Linked DNA regions of Homo sapiens: region 2 is linked to region 1. The links are contacts of gene promoters, found by promoter capture Hi-C in blood cells and fetal thymus (Javierre and others, 2016). All regions are on one chromosome and are shown on one strand. Each heading gives the region's core, a stretch centred on a gene start or on the middle of the fragment in contact. The rest is flanking DNA. Distances are from core to core; before and after follow the strand shown.

Region 1 (4,836 bases), core at 939-3,438:
ACAACTGTTACAGATTTGCAATTTGTCCAGGATTTTTCTCTGATGACTGCTGTAACTCTGTCATAAACTCTTTTCCTTGTTTTAGACACCCAGACATTTGTTGGAACAGTTTTAAGATCTTACTCTTTTTAGTGTAATTGATTGATTGGTTGATTGACTGAGATGGGGTCTCACTATGTTGCCCAGGCTTGTCTTAAACTCCTAGGTTCAAGCAATCCTCCTGCCTCAGCCTCCTAAGTGGCTGGGATTACAGGCACACACCACTGTGCTAGGCTCTAGTGTGATTTATTAACAAGGCTTAAACATATGGTCCATTAGACAAGGCTGCCACCTCAGAGTAAAGATTTCTTTTAATTCACTATAATAGACTTTTTTCTTTATATACAAGATACAATTTTACCACAGTAAAATACAAGGAAGCATACTGATACATACATTACAAACAGGATAAAGAAAGCAATATAATTTTTTCCACAAAAGCTTGCAAAATCCTGGCCAAAACACAGTGAACATGATGTTAAACTCATAGCTTACATTTCTCCACTGAAAGCTAGGAAAAACAATTCCAATTTTTGAAAAGTCAGGAAACTAAGCACTGTGAGAATTTACAAGATTTTGTAAACCTGTATATTCTCCCCACCCCGATATACAAGTAGCCAGAGGAGCCTATCAGTCTTACCCCAACACTTCAATCTCCTCCAACCTTCAAAATAAAACCCTCACTGTCCAATATCTGAATTTATATTTTCAAACGTCTAAAATCTTAATCAAAGCTAAGAGCAGTGCATTAGCTTTTCCCCATAAAATTGTTGGCATAATTTTACTTAGGCACAGCATAGTTTGTACTGTTATCAAAAAACATATGGCTAGAACCGACATTACTAGAAACCAAACGAATATACTATGAAGGTGAAAAGGGAACAGGGAATGTTGTTTTTGGACAGATTCAATGCTGTTATTATCCCTTCATAGGTTGGGTGTGATCGAATCACACTGTGCTGTACAACTAAGTATGTTCTATATTTTATGACAAAGTAGGGTAGCCAGGCCCTTACACTACAAACTCCCAGAAACCCCAGTTAAGCTGTTTAAAGTATAATCCAATTCAATTTACTGAAAATAATAGTAACAAAATTTAAATCCCTTGCTTCTAGTTAGCCCTTTTCAACTGCATTTTCAGCAATTACCACCAAAAGAACTGCATTAGGACAAAGATTCTAGAGCGGGTATAATGGTCAAATGCCATTTGAAGGCAAAAACAGTCTACCAGGAACAAAACATTAAAGTTCCCAACCTTGCCAAACTCCCTGTTCTGCGTATTCTGCCTCTCTCAGTTCACCTTCCAGCTGCCTGGAAGAGGCAAGTGGAAAATGTTAGTTTTCTGGAGAGATGAGAATGGAATTTAGGGGTTGGTAGGGGGTGATGGGCTCACTCACGGACCGCAAGGCACAAGAGAAGTGGCGAACGTCTCCCAGGCAAATGAGGCATGAAGAATGAGGGCTGGAGTCAAGGGGGAGATGGAGCAAGTATAAAAAGGCAGAGGACGCGCAGGGGCCGCGAATAGGGGAAGGGCACGACGCGCAATCCCTCCCGCTCCAGCCCGGGGAGAGGGGCGGGGGATGCCGCGCGGGTCAATTTGCCTAGCATTGTTGCACCTGGGTAGAAATGGGACTCAGGCCAAGAATTCGGTTCGAGTGTTAGGAGGACGCTGAGGGGAGTCAGGAACTTGGGTGGGAGTCGGGGGGAAACAGAGCACCTGTGCGGGGGGGAAAGGGACGAAAACCCCCTATTGCTCCCGAGGGGCAGGGGCTGACCCCAGCGGACGCCCCTTTTCGCCGATGGCCGCGACGTGGGACCCCGCGCGCTTTCCCTCCCTACAGGAGCTCGGGCAGGCGCGTGCCGCCCTTCACAGCCCCGACGGCGGCAGAAAGGGAGGCGCAGGGCGCCCCCAGAGCCGGGAGAACGGCGTTTCCCTCGAGTCCTTTCCCCAGCAGCCCGGGCACCCGAGCCCACCTGGGCTAACCAGAAGCCCCTCCTTCAGATCGTACTCTGCCACTCCTCCGAGAGCTTAAGCCGTTGCCGTAGAGGTCGCCGTCGCCACAACAGTCTCGGCCTTTAGTACCAAAACGTGAAGCACAGCACCCGAGAAGCGCCACTACCACTTGCCAGGTTATCTCTTACTGCACACTGCCTCCTCGCCCCGCCCCCGAACCCAAGCCATTGGTTGCCGGGCACCGCCCCATTCGTCTATTGGGCCAAAGAAGATGCCGTTCGGTCACCTAGAATGGCATATGTGGTTTTTATTGGTCTAAATGTGAAGCAGTGCCCGCCCACTCCCTCAGAAGTTTCAGCTTCTGATTGGTTTTAATGTCTGTCTTTTCTCTTCCTTCATTTTTTTTTTCCTGTGGTGGAACACCTCCTTGAGGGAGATGCCGGCTCTGATTGGCTGAAAGGACGCTACGCTAGCCTGGGATAGGCATTGGGCCAAGGATGCGCCCGGCCCACTCGTGGGGGAGGAGACCAAGGCGCCGCACTCTGGGTTTGTTTACACAGGCTCTTGCTCCCGCTTCGTCTATTGGCTGAGCTGGAAGCCACTGCCACCGAGTTTTGCCTGTCAGCCTAGCAAGGAGGAGGGTGGGGGTGGGCCTCAGTAGGATTTCCCTCAGCTGTCAATTACCAAAGGAGGAGCTTTGATTCAGGCTGCTTTGGACCTGGTGCTATTCTCTGTAGGGAAAATTAAGGAATTGGGCTCCTTGGGAGGCTGGAAGGAAGCAAAGGGACGCTGGAAGGAAGCAGACGGATGCTTCCACGTTTCTAGAAACAAACCTAACTTCTTGAGTGCTTTAAAAAAATAAAACTTGGCCGGGCGCGGTGGCTCACGCCTGTAATCCCACCACTCTGGGAGGCCGAGACGGGCGGATCACAAGGTCAGGAGTTCTAGACCAGCCTCGCCAGTATGGTGAAACCCCGTCTCTACTAAAAATGCAAAAATTAGCTGGGCGTGGTGGCGGGCTCCTGTAGTCCCAGCTACTCGGGAGGCTGAGGCAGGAGAATCACTTGAACCCGGGAGGCAGAGGTTGCAGTGAGCCAAGATCGCACCACTGCACTCCAATCTGGGCAATAGAGTGAGGTTGCGACTCAAAAAAAAATACATCAATAAATACAAATTAAAATAAAACTTTATTGCCTCCCTTGGATTTAGAATGTCCAATCTGCTTGCAAAGGACTTCGAATTGTATTCCACAGGAAGTAGGGATTTCTTTGTGGAGCTCTTACTTTATACATTTTTCTCTCCCCCCCACCTCTCAAGCTGACTGTATACATGACACAAAGTTAGGGAATTGCAGAATGAATGGAAAAAATATAAAAATGAAAAAGATAAACTCAAATAACAATTATAAATATTAGCTGTATACTTTGATATGGTTTGGCTCTGTGTCCCCACCCAAATCTCATTTTGAATTATAATTCCCAATGTTGGGGGAGGGACTTGGTGGGAGGCGATTGGATCATGGGGGCAGATTTCCCCCTTGCTGTTCTCGTGATAGTGAGTGAGTTCTCACAAGGTCTGATGGTAAAAAAAGTGTGTGTCCTTCCCCCTTAGCTCTCTCTCCCTCTTGCTACCATGTGAAAACGTGCTTGCTTCCCCTTTGCCCTGATTGTAAGTTTCCTGAGGCCTCACCAGCCATGCCTCCTGTACAGCCTGAGGAACGGTGAGTCAATTAAACCTCTTTTCTTTATAAATTACTCAGTCTCAGGTAGTTCTTTATAGCAATGTGAGAATGGACTAATACATACTTCATATTAAATGATATAAGTAAATAAATAAATTCATTCAACAAGTATTATTTAGCATCTACTATGAATGTTCTAGGCTCTGATCATGGAACTGGGTATATGATATGAATAAGACAGTGAAGATGCACCCATGGTGTTTATACTGTAGTGAAGGAGACTGACAACAGAAAAGTAACCAATAAATAATAAAATGGTATGTTGTGAATAAATGCTACAAAGGAAAATAAAGCAGAGTCATGGGATGGTTGGGGAAATGGCTATTTTAAGTAGGATGGTTAGTTTAAGAGCTGTTTGAGGAAACAGCACTGAACAGAGATGTGAATAATGTGAAGAAGTGAAGAGTGGGAAGGGGCTAATAAGCAGAGCCACTACAGTGCACAACTCCAGGATCACTATTCACATTGCTCCATGTATTTTGAAGTTGTGTATTAGGTGTACATCCATTTAGGGCTGCCAACTCTGGTTTAAAGCTTTATTTGATTACATAATTTAAATGACGCCTGCAAGAAACATGTGTCTTTTAGAAAAAAAAAAATCTCTCTCTAGGATAGCATCCCCATACCCTCCACTGCTTCTTTCCCTGAATTGGCCTTCCGGTGTATGATGAGAGAAAGTTTACACAATCTCATAGGTTTGAAAAACAGGCTCTTCTGGTCCACGTGGTGTCCTTGAGCAGTCAGAAATACTCCTTGAGGATGAACCTTTATTACCAGGATAGCAATGGGATGTAAGGAAGGGTTGATGAACTTCTCTCGTCTCACTTCCTACCACTGGTGCCATCTATTATAAATTCATGGCTGGCTATTACCAGTGATAAAGAGAAAAGTCTTAAAAGCAGGCAGAAAAAAAATATGGCCATTTTAAGTAGAATGGTTAGTTTAAGAGCTGTTTGAGGAAAGACCATTGAACAGAGATGTGAAGAAGTGAAGAGCAGGAAGGGGCTGGGAAACATACAGAGGGGAAAAAATAGATAAGAATTACAGCAAATTTCTTATCAGAAACTATGGAAGCCAAAAGACAATGAAGGAATGAGGTAGC
Region 2 (4,836 bases), core at 2,287-4,786, 280 kb after region 1:
CTTTCCCTTAAGAGCCTCAGCAGAGCCAAAGAACTTCAGTATTCACCATCAGATCCTGAAGCCATGGTCCCTGGGGCCCACCTCCTAGTGCTGAGGTCTGTTCTAGACCCTGAGCTCCAGAGCCTCTGGAGCTGCAGGGATGTCCCTGTGGCTCTCTGATGGGCAGCTAGAAGACAGACCTGTGCTGGAAGTCTCATTCAAGGGCCCAGAGCAACCCGGATGGTGCCAGTTCTTCAGGAGGTTGGTGTGGAGCTGTCGGTGTAGAAACACCGGATGCTCAGGAAACCCCAGAAGGGGCTGCCTAAGTGGTCTCTGGAGCCCTCTCTCTGGAGAGGGCTGCTCCTGTCTGCATCCCGGAGAGGGCTGCTCCCAAGCCCCAGTGCTGAGGAGCTGGCACTGGGCACGGTGTGGAAGAGTTACACTCCGGCGGCTCCACCTCTCACAGAGATGGTGTATAGAAGCCCCCAGGTGGTGTGCAGTGAGTGGATAGCAGGGTGAGCCCCTAGAAACAGGAAGGGGCGCTCTTCCAGGGGACCTGTTTCCAAGGTCAGAGGCCCAAGGGCAGCCCAGGTGTGGCCCCTTCAAGTTTTTGCTTCACTCTCCTCAGCTCAATGGGGTCCACTCAGACCGCTTGATTTAACACTGCAATCTGCAAAATGTCTCATTCCCCTGATCCTTCTTGCTCTGGTTTACTTTTTCTTTTCTTTCTAACATACTCTCTTCTTTATGTATTTATTTTGTTTATTATTTATTGTCTGTCTTCTCTGCCAAGACATCAGCTCCATGGGGGCAGGGACCTTTGCCTTATTTATGGAAGCGTCCCCAGAATCTTGAACAGTGTGTTTGGCCCTGGCAGGTGCCCAACACACAGGCACGTGTGCGCGCACACACACACACGTAGAGGGAATGAATATGTGAGTTAATGAATGAATGGGTCAGGCCAGACATGTCAGGCAGGGCCCTCAGTGTTCATCTTTCAGATGTGGGCCCAACTCAGGCCAAGTCAAACAAACACCCCCCACAGGCCTGGCCTCTGGGGCCACTGCACGGAGCCCTGCGCTCACAAGGGCCTCATGCTTGGCTTAATTCTCTTCTGTTTCCATCTTGAAATTCTTAAAGCTCACTGCATCCTTGACCTCCGGGGCTCAAGTAGGCTCAAGTGATCCTCTCGCCTCAGCCTCCTGAATAGCTGGGACTACAAGCATGGCTACCACGCCCAACTAGTTTTTGATTTTGGAATAAGGGGCTCTGCATTTTCATTTGTGCTGGGCTTGCACATTATGCAGCTGGTCCTGACCTCATGCTAATCTTGGAGGGCCGGAGTCAGCATGGATGGGCAGGGGGCTTTATTTGTCTCTGCCTAAGGAGATTCCTGTGGCTATTCCTAAAAAGAAGCAGATTTTCAAAACCTTTTATTTGGAAATATTTAAGATCTAGACAAAAGTTGCCAAGTATGGTACAAAGAGTATTTTGTCCTAAGCCATTTGACATGAGGGTGCCAACCTCCTGGCCCATCATTCTGAACTCGAGTGTGTGTTCTCCAGTTAAGGACTTTCTCCTACATAACCACAACACAGCCTTCCAAACGATGAAATTAACATGGACACAGCACTCTCGTCTAATCCCCAGACCCCAGTCGCGGCTCATCCATTTTTCCCAGTGTCCTTTGTAGCAGAAGGATCCCACTAAGGCTCATGTGTTGCACCTAGTTGTTTTGTTTCTTCAGTTTCCTTCCATTTGGAATAATTCCTCAGTCTTTCTTTGACTTTTATAACCTTGTAGCTGGATATTTTTTTGAAATTCCGGCCAATTATTTGTAGAATGTCCCCCACATTGGTTTTGTCTGATGTTTCCTGTGTTTAGATTTAGGCTGTGTGTCTTGGGTGTGAGTGTAACACTGATGCTGCGTGGCTGTCTTTGTGCCCTATCAGGTGGGATGATTGTGATTCGTTTGGTTACCACACTGTTAACTGTGATCATTTGATTACACTAGCATTTGCTGGGTGTCCCCGCTAATCGTTCATCTACTCCCCTTTCTCATGTCAGAATTTTGTGACTTTGTAATATCCTCTTTGTCATCTAACCTTTACCCGTGAGTTCTATGAGCTGTTGTTTTGTATTTGTATTTTTACTTTTTTTGAGACGGTATGTCACTCTGCTGCCCAGGCTGGAGTGCAGTGGCACGATCCTGGCTCACTGCAGCCTCCGCCTCCCGGGTTCAACCAATCCTCCCACCTCAGCCTCCCAAGTAGCTGGGATTACAGGGGCATGCCACCACACCTGGCTATTTTTTTTGTATTTTTATAGAGATGGGGGGTTTTACCATGTTGGCCAGGCTGGTCTTGAACCCCTGACCTCAGGTGATTCACCCACCTCGGCCTCCCAAAGTGCTGGGATTACAGGCGTGAGCCACTGTGCCCAGCCGTCATGAAGTGTTTTTGTTTTTGTTTTGAGACTGGTCTCATTCTGTTGCCCAGCTGGAATGCAGTGGTGTAATCATGGCTCACTGCAGCCTTGACCTCCCAGGCTCAAGTGATTCTCCCACCTCAGCCTCCTGAGTAGCTGGAACTATAAGCGTGGGCCACCATGCCTGGCTAATTTTTTGTTTTTTGTAAAGATGAGGGTCTCACTATGTTGTCCAGGCTGGTTTTGAACTCTGGGCTCAAGAAATCCTCCTGTCTCAGCCTCCCAAAGTGCTGGGATTATAGTTGTGAGCCACTGTACCTGGCCGTACCCAGGAGTTTTAATATCACTGCTGTTTCTTGGTTGAATTCATTATTGCTTTGATGATTGCTAAATAGTGATATTCTCAGTTATTTTTCCTGCATTAGTCAGTTGGCATTTCGTGGTCAGGAAAAGCTTTCTCCTCTCCTATTTATTTACTGTGGTATGGATTTGGGTATTTCTATTTTATTCAATTGTTTAATCTGTTACTGTTATTATGTATTTTCATGTTTCTATTGTCTCAGATTTGGCCTGTGGGAGCTCTTGAAAGTTGGCTTCTGTGTCCTTTTGACATGTTTTTACTTTTTATTATTTATTTATTATTTTATTTTATGTTTTTGAGGCAGAGTCTTGCTCTGTAACCCAGGCTGGAGTGCAGTGGTGTGATCGACTCATTGCGACCTCTGCCGCCAAGGTTCAAGCGATTCTCCTGCCTCAGCCTCCTGAGTAGCAGGGATTACAGGTGCATGCCACCACGCCTGGCTAATATGTTTGTATTTTTAGTAGAGATGGGGTTTCACCATGTTGGCCAGGCTGGTCTCAAACTCCTGACCTCAAGAGATCCGCCTGGCTCGGCCTCCCAAAGGGATTACAGGCATGAACCACCTCGCCCAGGCTCTTTTGATGTGTTTTTAAGAATCAGTCATTCATTGAGCATTTCCTTCCTTTCTGGTGCAAGAAGATGGTCCAGGCTCATCTTGTATCTTCCCTGCCCTAGCCCTGGAAGTAGTTATTTCTCCAAAGAGCCCAACTTACCTTTTGCTGAAGTGGAAGAAAGTCCCAGGACAGTTGTTAAAAGTGCAAATACCCAGGCCCACCCTAGACCTACTGAACTGGCATCTCTAGGAGTCAGGTGTGGCATCTGGGCGGAGGGGAGGACTTTCTTCTTTTCCCCTCCACGGGTTGCAGGAGCTGAAGGGACTGGCTGCTCACGTGGCGACACCTGGTGGTGATTCAGGAACCCACAGGGCAGGTTATGTTCATTCCTTGGGTGAGGGAATTCAAGGGTCTCAGTTGCCTTTGTTGACCTCCTCCTGGGTCTCCTGGGATGCTGAGCTAGCTCTTGTCTCCTTCCTCAGTGTTCTGAGCCCTGCTTTCCACCAGTGCTGCTCTCCTTAGTGTGGCTGTCCCCAGGCCCCAGTCTGGAGAGTTCAAGCTCAAGAGCTGAGTATGTCGGGAGCCTTCAGGCCCTTCTCTCTTGGGACTGAGTTTGCTCTGTGAGTCCCTGGACGTCCCTAACATCATTCAGCAGAAAGGTCCAGTGAACTGTGCCAGAGCCACTCAGAGGGACATTATGCCTCAGGAAAAATTGTGTTTATAAAGGGTTTGTCAAAACCTGGGGAGAGCTTATTGCCTGACATTCAGTAAAAGAAAATCATTTTGCATACAGCAGATCTGTCTACTATTTGTTTGAAAGATTGGAGAGAACTGGAATGTGGAGTCACGGAATTATGGACAATTGGTTTTCTTTTGCCTTATTTTTCCTCTTTAAGCTTTCTGTGCTTCCCAAACTTTCTTAGAGTATCCGTTGCACTAATTTGAGAGACTGGCTGCCCCAGGAGGCTTGCTGGACCTGTGGAGCCGGGACAGGGCTCAGGCAGGCCCGGGAGCAGCCAGGCTGCAGATCCTGCTGAGGTTGTGCCGTTCCCAGGTTCAGGGTGAGGGTTGGGGTGGGGTGGGCGCATGGGCAACCCGACCTCGCCTGTGAGGGATGTCACCAGTCCCTCTCCTCTCTGGCCGGTGCAAGCCGGGGCAGCTGAGGATGTGCTGGGGGGCAGGAAGGAAGAGGGCTCTGCAAGCCTGGCAGCACACTGAGACCCTCTCAGTGCTAGCTGCAGCCTGAGCAAAGCAGAGCAAAGCTGAGTTGTCCCTGGAGAAGTAGGGGCAAGCCATTGACTGAGCAGAGTGGCCAAAGGGACATTTTCCTGAAGACAGGCCAAGTGGATAGTGGGAAAAATCCTGCAGGTGAGGTTGGATCCCTGATTCATTTGCAGAAGTCCACTACGTGCTACATCAACTAATTTGCTCCACATTTGACCTGTGAGGAAGGTGCTATTGCTATGACTAACCCCAATTTTATAGATGAGGAAACTGAGGCACAGGGCGGTCACA

The links. The method cuts DNA at HindIII sites, captures the fragments that hold promoters and counts their contacts. A CHiCAGO score of 5 or more calls a contact.
Region 2: a fragment that was not itself captured here is called in contact with the fragment with the promoter of PAIP2B in region 1 in 4 of 17 cell types (total B cells, erythroblasts, naive B cells and 1 more); the score reaches 10.2 in total B cells.

The regions. Positions count from the first base shown.
Region 1 is chr2:71,224,915-71,229,750 of GRCh38, forward strand. It overlaps PAIP2B (poly(A) binding protein interacting protein 2B), which reads right to left and starts at 2,189. Exons shown (of 4, transcript NM_020459.1): 1 at 2,014-2,189. RefSeq lists enhancers at 1,619-2,119, 2,335-2,474. The HindIII fragment of the contact is 3,788 bases long and covers 479-4,266 here.
Region 2 is chr2:71,506,732-71,511,567 of GRCh38, forward strand. The region is part of intron 4 of DYSF (dysferlin); the gene reads left to right. Among named protein-coding and RNA genes, the nearest start is that of DYSF, 42 kb to the left of the region's middle. RefSeq lists enhancers at 1-323, 324-823. The HindIII fragment of the contact is 1,358 bases long and covers 2,858-4,215 here.